Linked DNA regions of Homo sapiens: all the other regions are linked to region 2. The links are contacts of gene promoters, found by promoter capture Hi-C in human tissues and cell types (Jung and others, 2019). All regions are on one chromosome and are shown on one strand. The core of a region is centred on a gene start or on the middle of the fragment in contact, and the rest is flanking DNA. Distances in the headings are between cores, read along the strand shown.

The links. The method cuts DNA at HindIII sites, captures the fragments that hold promoters and counts their contacts. A contact is called where the count stands out against the background at its distance.
Region 1: a contact is called between a fragment that was not itself captured here and the fragment with the promoter of SUPT4H1 in region 2, in 1 of the 25 tissues and cell types used here (bladder).
Region 3: a fragment that was not itself captured here is called in contact with the fragment with the promoter of SUPT4H1 in region 2 in 1 of the 25 tissues and cell types used here (dorsolateral prefrontal cortex).

Annotation. Positions count from the first base shown.
Region 1 is chr17:59,118,278-59,120,977 of GRCh38, forward strand. SKA2 (spindle and kinetochore associated complex subunit 2) reads right to left here. Exons shown (of 4, transcript NM_182620.4): 3 at 1,042-1,218. LOC124904039 (a long non-coding RNA gene) reads left to right here. Exons shown (of 2, transcript XR_007065864.1): 2 at 1-176. Among named protein-coding and RNA genes, the nearest start is that of TRIM37, 13 kb to the left of the region's middle. The HindIII fragment of the contact is 4,853 bases long and covers 1-2,700 here.
Region 2 is chr17:58,350,861-58,353,560 of GRCh38, forward strand. It overlaps SUPT4H1 (SPT4 homolog, DSIF elongation factor subunit), which reads right to left and starts at 1,341. Exons shown (of 5, transcript NM_003168.3): 1 at 1,207-1,341; 2 at 542-648. The coding sequence starts at 1,275. TSPOAP1-AS1 (TSPOAP1, SUPT4H1 and RNF43 antisense RNA 1) reads left to right here. Exons shown (of 5, transcript NR_038410.1): 4 at 884-1,054; 5 at 1,139-2,700. It also overlaps a transcript of RNF43 not described here. RefSeq lists silencers at 915-1,024, 1,305-1,734 and an enhancer at 2,122-2,657. The HindIII fragment of the contact is 5,411 bases long and covers 1-2,700 here.
Region 3 is chr17:58,993,487-58,996,186 of GRCh38, forward strand. It overlaps a transcript of TRIM37 not described here. Among named protein-coding and RNA genes, the nearest start is that of TRIM37, 110 kb to the right of the region's middle. RefSeq lists a silencer at 11-211. The HindIII fragment of the contact is 8,511 bases long and covers 1-2,700 here.

The DNA.
Region 1 (2,700 bases), core at 89-2,588, 770 kb after region 2:
AAAATCCTCTATTACTATATAACTACTTTTATGTACCAATTTGTAGTCTCAAAAATATACCATCAATTTATTATATCCAGTGGGGGAAATTTGTAAATATTCAAAATACCATTTTTCCCTTTGCCCTCTCACCCAAGTTTATTCTGTGCTTCAATAAATTTATGGTTCTATACAGATATGTTGTCATGTACATCTGGAACTATACTTAATCAGCTATTTGTTTTCCAAGAACAAGGTTATGTGCTCTATTGTCAGGCACATATAATGAAGAATGTGTGATTTGAGATGATTTATAAAAGCTTATCATATACATACTTTTTTTTGCATTTAATTTACTAGCATGTGACACAACCCTGTTTTAAATTCTGTCTCCCCATTACCTCTATTCCCTGTTCAATTGCCCTTCCTTCCTCCATCATTCATCTCCTTGTGATATAACAGATACATCTAAGGTATCATTTTATCGTTCTAAGCAGATATTATTCTATTTTTTCCCCTCCATTTGCAATATAAAGTATTCTTGATCAAACTGACCTGGGTAATTAACCTTTCTGATTTACTCTAGCTACAAGCCCATAATTCAAAGTATCTTAAGCCAAAATTTAGTGTAGAGTTGGCAAATAAATATCACATATGCAGCCCTTCCTCCTTCCCATGCTCGTGGCAGACTACGCTATTTTCTGCCATGTCCAGACACAGCTCCTTGATACAGCACTCTAAGCCACCCTTTTCTAGACATCTCAGTCTCACTAGTACTTACAGGAACCAGCTAAGCTGCTAGATTTTATAAGTATTACCAAGTTTTCTGCCATGGTTACATAATTCAAGACAGCACAATTCTTTATTAACCATGTCAAGTCCAAATGCTTATTTTTAAATAAACAGAAATAAGAGCTATTATACTTCAGGGTATCAGGAAAATCTTTCAATAGTTCAAACTGACTGCTGAGTTTCAAAATTTAAGTTACATCAGGTTTATTTTTCAAAGCAACACTCAGAGCTAAAGCTAAACAAATCTAACCTGTCAACTGAAAGCATTACCTCCAGGTCTGTTTGCTTCTGTAGTTTTTGTATCATATTCATAGTCTTTTTCACAGTAGCACAAATGCGGCTCTTACTCTCTTTCTGCTCAACAGCAACTGGTTTAAAGCGGGCATACAAAGTTTGATATCGAGACTTTATCACTGACAATTCCTTTAAGAGTGTAACTGGATTTTTCTATGTCAGGAAAAAAGTGAACATGTATTAAATTATGAAAGATTAAACTTTTTAAGAATTAAAATACTGTATACATACAACACATTCTACCATCCATTTAATTGAACACTGTTGAGTATTTAATTATGCAGCCACATGACATCAGATGGGAGGTGGGGAAGAGAGAAAAGTATAAGACCTAGATCCTATTCTCAAGGAATTTATAGCCTAGGTACAGAAATAACCCACCAAAAAAATTAGCAATATTAAACAGCAAATAAGGGTCACCTTAGATATATAACATTTGATGGATAGTTCACAATAATAAATTATACAATATTTCTAAAATACAATTCTAAATGCTATTCAGAAGAAGATAAAAGGCACTATTAGTATTTGTTCTTAAAGAATAAGAACTTGAAACTACTTATAAAAATCTTTTTTTTTTTTTTGAGATGGAGTCTCACTCTGTTGCCCAGGCTGGAGTGCAGTGGCGCAATCTCAGCTCACTGCAAGCTTCACCTCCCAGGTTCATGCCATTCTCCTGCCTCAGCCTCCGGAGTAGCTGGGACTACAGGCGCCCGCCACCACGCCCAGCTAATTTTTTGTATTTTTAGTAGAGAAGGGGTTTCACCGTGTTAGCAAGGATGGTCTCAATCTCCTGACCTTGTGATCCGCCCGCCTCAACCTCCCAAAGTGCTGGGATTACAGGTGTGAGCCACTGCGCCCGGCCAAAATTCGTAAACATACTATCATGGGGATAAAGTATGTATAAATATCAATTTACTTATATACACACAAAATATAAAATTCATGCCAACCCAACTGTATTTATAAACTATGCTGGTTTTCCAGATTTATTTTGTAATATACATTACCACTATTCCATAAAAGACATTTCAATTGGACCCCTTCTGCCACTTGGTAATTCTTTTCTTTAATTTTTTTTTTAAATAGATACAGGAATCTCACTGTGTTGCCCAGGCTGGTCTTAAACTCCTGGCCTCAAGTGATCCTCCTGCATCAGCCTCCCAAAGTGCTAGAATTACAGGTGTGAGCCACTGTATCCTGCCAGATTTCTTTTTTTATGATTAGGTAAGATTCATATATTTTCAGGCCCCACCAAGTGACAGCACAATTAATAAAAAGATCTATACCATAACTGTAAATTTTCGCAGGATAGAAAAAATATTCTGAAACTTCCAGGTGATAGGTAAGGGACTGGGGTAGGCTGAGGAGGAAAGCACAGACAAAGGATCAGGAATGAGAATGGCATCCATTTTTCAACAGCAACAATAGAAGCTAGAAAACCACGAAGTAATGATGTTAAAATTAAGAGAAAATCTCCAATCTAGAATCCTATATTCAACCAAACCACTCATCAAACAAAGGGTTAGGCCGGGCGCAGTGGCTCACGCCTGTAATCCCAGCACTTTGGGAGGCCGAGGCGGGCAGATCATGAGGTCAGGAAATCGAGACCATCCTGGCTAACACGGTGAAACC
Region 2 (2,700 bases), core at 91-2,590:
ACAGCTTTTGGGCAATGATCTACCATTACTACACCTCCCTTCCCTTCATTTTCAAAAAAAATTTTCATGCATTTAACAAACATTATTAAGATTACATTCTTTCTTCTCATGTTAAGTCTTTGAAATCTGGGGTATATTTTATACTTAAAAGCATGTCTTAATTTGGACTAGACACATTTCAAGTGCTCAGTAGCTACACGTGGATAGTGGTCACTGTATTAGATGCATAGCACTAGTATGTCCCAAAATAACTGTTGAGGCTGGACACAGTGGCTTACACCTATAATCCCAGCACTCTGGGAGGTTGAAGTCAGAGGATCATTCCACGCTGCAGTGAGCTATGATCATGCCACTGCACTCCAGCCTGAGCCACAGAGCAAAACCCTGATTCAAAAAAAAAAAAAAAAAAAAAAACCCACACAAAATAACCCCCAAAAACGAATGGCTGGGCCCAACTAGGATTAACACTTGCCCTGCATTTACTTCTCTGGGTGCAGGTTGGGTAATGCAGAAGTGAATGATGGAAACTGAAGCGGCTTACCCATCAAAGGAAGAGCTAGTGCAGTCATATACCATCTCTCGGTTACCCTTCATTTGTAGATATGCATCACAATTGTCACAACCATCATATTCAAACTGGTCTATAGTCTGGGAGTGAAAGAAAAATAAAGGAAAAGGAGAGATAAGCATGAACAAGACCAAGAGAAAAAGTAGCTTTCTCAATACTTCGACCTGCTCAATTTCTTGTTTCCCTATGTTGACTGTGTATCCTAAGGTTCCCCACCTACTACTCTCAAAGCTTCATTCCTAAGTCCCACCCTCCCACTCCTTCCTCTCTCGTTCCCAATTCCGTTTTATCTATTCCTTTCTCTAGTCTACTCAGGGTCAGGCATCCTTTCCGACTACTCACTCAGCAGCGGATCCCCACCCGCCTCTGACTCCCAGTGTCTTTCGGCTCCAACGTAAGTTCACCGAACGTCTAAGAGCTGAGGATTCAAAGGCATGTAAGACCGCCCCTGCCCTCAGCTGCAAGACCTGTCCGCGATCCTACGAGGTAAACGATGGCCTCCTTCGGCTTCTCACTCCCCCTGCCACCTCTGAGTTCTGAGACTTAACTTTTCTCTTTACTGTCCCACAGCCCCATTCCGCCCTCTTTCCCCGACCTTGGTCCCCCATGGGCCCTACAACCAGGTCCCCGACTGACACCTTGACCAGCGAACACAGCAAACAGGCCCGCAGATGCCGCAGGTCCTTCGGCACCGTCTCCAGGGCCATCTTCGCCGATGGGAAGAACAACAGGGAGATAGACGACCACAGCCTGTGCACCCGCAGGAAGTAAATAGCTCGTTACCCAGAATGCCCACCACTTCCGGCGCTTAGACTTCCTCTTCCGGTGTGGGCGGACGCCAGCTCCGCCCCTACCCCCGCCAGAGGAGATGGTTTCTCCCGCCAGCAGGCGGGGAGGCTGGGCGGCCGGCCGCCACCTGGGCCGGAGCGCGTCGCAGCCACCTGAGCCCGCCGAGGGCGCGGCGGAGGCTGTGTGGGGTAGTCAGCGGGCCCCCGGGGCGGGGGGGCGGCTGCGCTTGCGCGGGAGTGTGTCGGGCTGAGCCGCAGCGCCGAGACGCGGGCTGTTTGATCTGGGCTGGTGGCCCTGGGCGTCGGTCCTGTTCCCCGATGGTAACCCGAAGTTTGTTTTTTTTTGTTTTGTCTCCCCGTTTTAGAAGCATTGGGGGCAGTGAATCCACTGTCTCCCTCTGGATTGTCTCTGCAGAGACCGAGAAGAAATCCAGGGACAGCCCCACCCCTCCTTCCTAACTGCGAGAGCGCTATAGGGTTTCCACTTGCTTCCCACAGGAATGCTGGCCTGGGAGCTACGGCGGAAAAAAATGCGTATTTATCTTTTAAAACTCCGTCTGTTTGCTCGTTCCGGCTGATAATTTATACTTTGCGCAGTTCTTAGCGCTTAGACACGGTTCCTTTACTAAAGACCATTTGTAGGAGATTAGGTGTCCTTTTTTTCCCTTTCATTTCACCGTCTAGGAAGCGAAATGCCTTGTTCTATAGGCACTAAACCACCACCCCTACCAAACCTTTCTCGGGGAAGCAGAAGGGGAACTTGTGCCTTGTGAGGAAGCGACAAAGGCCCCTTCTGGCCCTGGAGACTTCACGCCAATGGAGCACCAGCTCTCTGTCCTCGCAATAGCCCGAGTGCAGGCAGAACGCAGTCATTTGTGTTTATCTGAGAGGAGCTTTGGGATATAAATAGTTTCAGGCCCCGCTGCGCTGTCATTCCAGCCCAGCCTCCTGATTGAGCTGCTTCCGGGCGGGCTTTCTTCTTGTTGGCGGTCCCATGCTGTGTTCAGATGGGCTCTGTGACAGGTTTGGATGTTTTCTATCACTGAATAAAACTTTCCACTTTGGAACATATTTTCTACACTCTATTATCTCATGTAAGTCCTGCAACAACTATTAAGTAGGCCCATTTTATGGACTGAAAAAGCGAGGCACAGAGTATTTGCCCAAGGTCTGAGTCACTGAAGTATGATAATGTGTGAAGTGAACAGTATAATAATAATGACTGAAGCACAGTAAGAATCCAGTCATGCTTTCTCCTTCCCTGATCTCACTAAGCCACACTTTTAGGGGCTTACAAACCAGTTCTTATTGCCAAGCCCTCTACTCTACCCTATCCTTTCATGA
Region 3 (2,700 bases), core at 71-2,570, 640 kb after region 2:
ACACAAGATGAGTGAAACTTAACTGCACTTTGCGAAGCGAGAGGTCAAACTGTGATCCCGTTTACATGACTCTGGAAAAGCAAAAACTAAAAGGGCAGAGAACAGATCAGATCAGATCAGATCAGCGGTAGCCAGGAGCTGTGGGGAAGGGGGGTGGTTACCTATAAAGGGCCAGCACAGGGGAATCTTGGGGGTGACTGAAATGTTCTGTATAGTATTGTGGTGGCGGATACAAGACATTTGTTGAAACCCACAGAACTGTATGCCAGAAAGACTGAATTTTAATGTATGTAAATTTACAAATTAACCAGGATATGTGGGGGAGGACAGAATGTAGACCATAACAGATGAACCTGTTACACCAACGAAGCACAAAATCACAATGAAGGGATTTTGTGAAAGAACAGAACTAATGTAATTTTGAACCTAAATATCTTTGAAAAAAATGTTATGACACAATACTGAAAAGCTAAAGACTAAAAGAACTGTATACAAGCACTGTATTTTAGGTGGTAAATCTGTTTTTTGTAGGGCATAGCCTGGAATCCACAGGAGGCCAACGGTTCTGAAGCTACTTGTATATTAGGGTTGAACAAGTACATACATATATTGTAGCTAATGAGAGCTAGGCTTCTGTCAGAGAAAGGCATTATAAATAAGAGGGAAGGCCAGAATGAGGCCTCTGGAGCTGAACTGTTACCAATATAGACTCACAGTCATAGTGACACACACACACAGATATGTACAGAAATACACATAAATGTGTGTATTTGCATGAGTTAACTATACAGTCAGCCCTCTATTATCTTTGGTTTCTGCATCCATGGAGTCAACCAACAATAGACAGAATTTATTTTTAAAAAATAATAAAAAAAATAGCACAATAATTTACATAGCATTTACATTGTATTAGGTATTACAGGTAATCCAGAGATGATTTAAAGTATCTGGGAGATCAGGCGTGGTGGCTCACACCTGTAGTCCCAGCTACCTGAGAGGCTGAGGTGGGAGGATTGCTTGAGCCTAAGACTTCATAGCTGCAGTAAGCTATGCACAGCTGCACCCTAGCCTGGGCAACAGAATGAGACCGTCTCAAAACCCAAAACAAAGTATCCAGGAGGATGTGCACAGGTTATATGCAAACACTATACCGTTTTATATAGGGGACTTGAGCATCTGTGGACTTTGGTATCCACAGGGAGTCTTGGAACCAATCCCTCACAGATGCTAAGGAACAGCTGTCTATATACATTTTCTTTCTTTCTTTTTTTTTTTTTTTGAGACAGAGTTTCGCTCTTGTTGCCCAGGCTGGAGTGCAAATGGCACGATCTCGGCTCACTGCAACCTCCGCCTCACGGGTTTAAGCGATTCTCCTGCCTCAGCCTCCTGAGTAGCTGGGATTACAGGCATGCGCCATCACAGCCAGCTAATTTTGTATTTTTAGTACAGATGGGGTTTCTCCATGTTGGTCAGGTTGGTCTCGAACTCCCGACCTCAGGTGATCCACCTGCCTCAGCCTCCCAAAGTACTGGGATTACAGGCATGAGCCACTGTGCCCGGCCATACATTTTCTTTTTTTTGAGACAGTGTCTCACTCTGTCACGCAGGCTGAAGTGCAGTAGCACGATTTTGGCTCACTGCAACCTCTACCTCCCAAGCTCAAGTGATCCTCCCACCTCAGCCTCCCAAGTAGCCGGGACCACAGGTGTGCACCACCACACCCAGCCAATTTACATTTTCTATCTATCCATTGAGTGGGACTAGAAGCAGTGACAGTCTAATAATAATAAATATGTGGCATCCAAATCTTTGTTTCTAGATAGCATTCTCCAATAAAAAGAACCATGGTTCCTTAGGAAGTGGTTAATTCCATGGCTGGGGTAGGCATCTTGTGATGTCAGAAAGCAAAGAAATGCTTAAAAAAAAAAAAAAAGAAGAATGAGACATATGAAAAGGGCACAGGAGCCAATCTGGAAGAGTTTCCAATGGCTAAAATTAGAACAAGCCAAGCTACAAAATATTAACAGTATTGAGTCATAACTCAAAAATAAATATCCATCATATATAGATATATAAAGTAGCTGATATAAATAAGTAGCTGAAATTACAAAAATGGGGAAGAAGGGACTTTTCCTCACAGCATTCTAACAAAAAACATAGAAGAAATTAGTGAATTAGAAAAGTACCATTAAAACATTACAGTAATAATTCCCATAGGCAAGATCGACTACTAGGTGCTAAAATTCGTAAGCAAGAGTTTTGGCTGGGCGCAGTGGCACATGCCTCTATCGCAGCACTTTTGGAGGCTGAGACGGGAGGGTCACTTGAACCCAAGAACTCAAGAACTCCATCTCTATAAAAAATACAAAAATTATCCCAGTGTGACTGCGCATGCCTGTAGTCCCAGCTACTTAGGAGGCTGAAGTGGGAGGATCGCTTAAGCCCAGGGGGTTGAGGCTGTATGAGCCAACATCGCACCACTACAGCATGGGTAACAAAGCCAGACCCTGTCTTCCAAAAAAAAATAATAATAATAATTAATAGAAACAAGGTATCTGCATAGTTTCAAAGTATCTGCCCCAAATATTTAGTAATTACAAAGGGGGAAAACGTAAATCTATAGTAGGAAATCCTCACAGACACCATCTTAACCAAGTAATCTCAAGGTTAAGTTCACCAATAAAAAAGTATCAACATCAG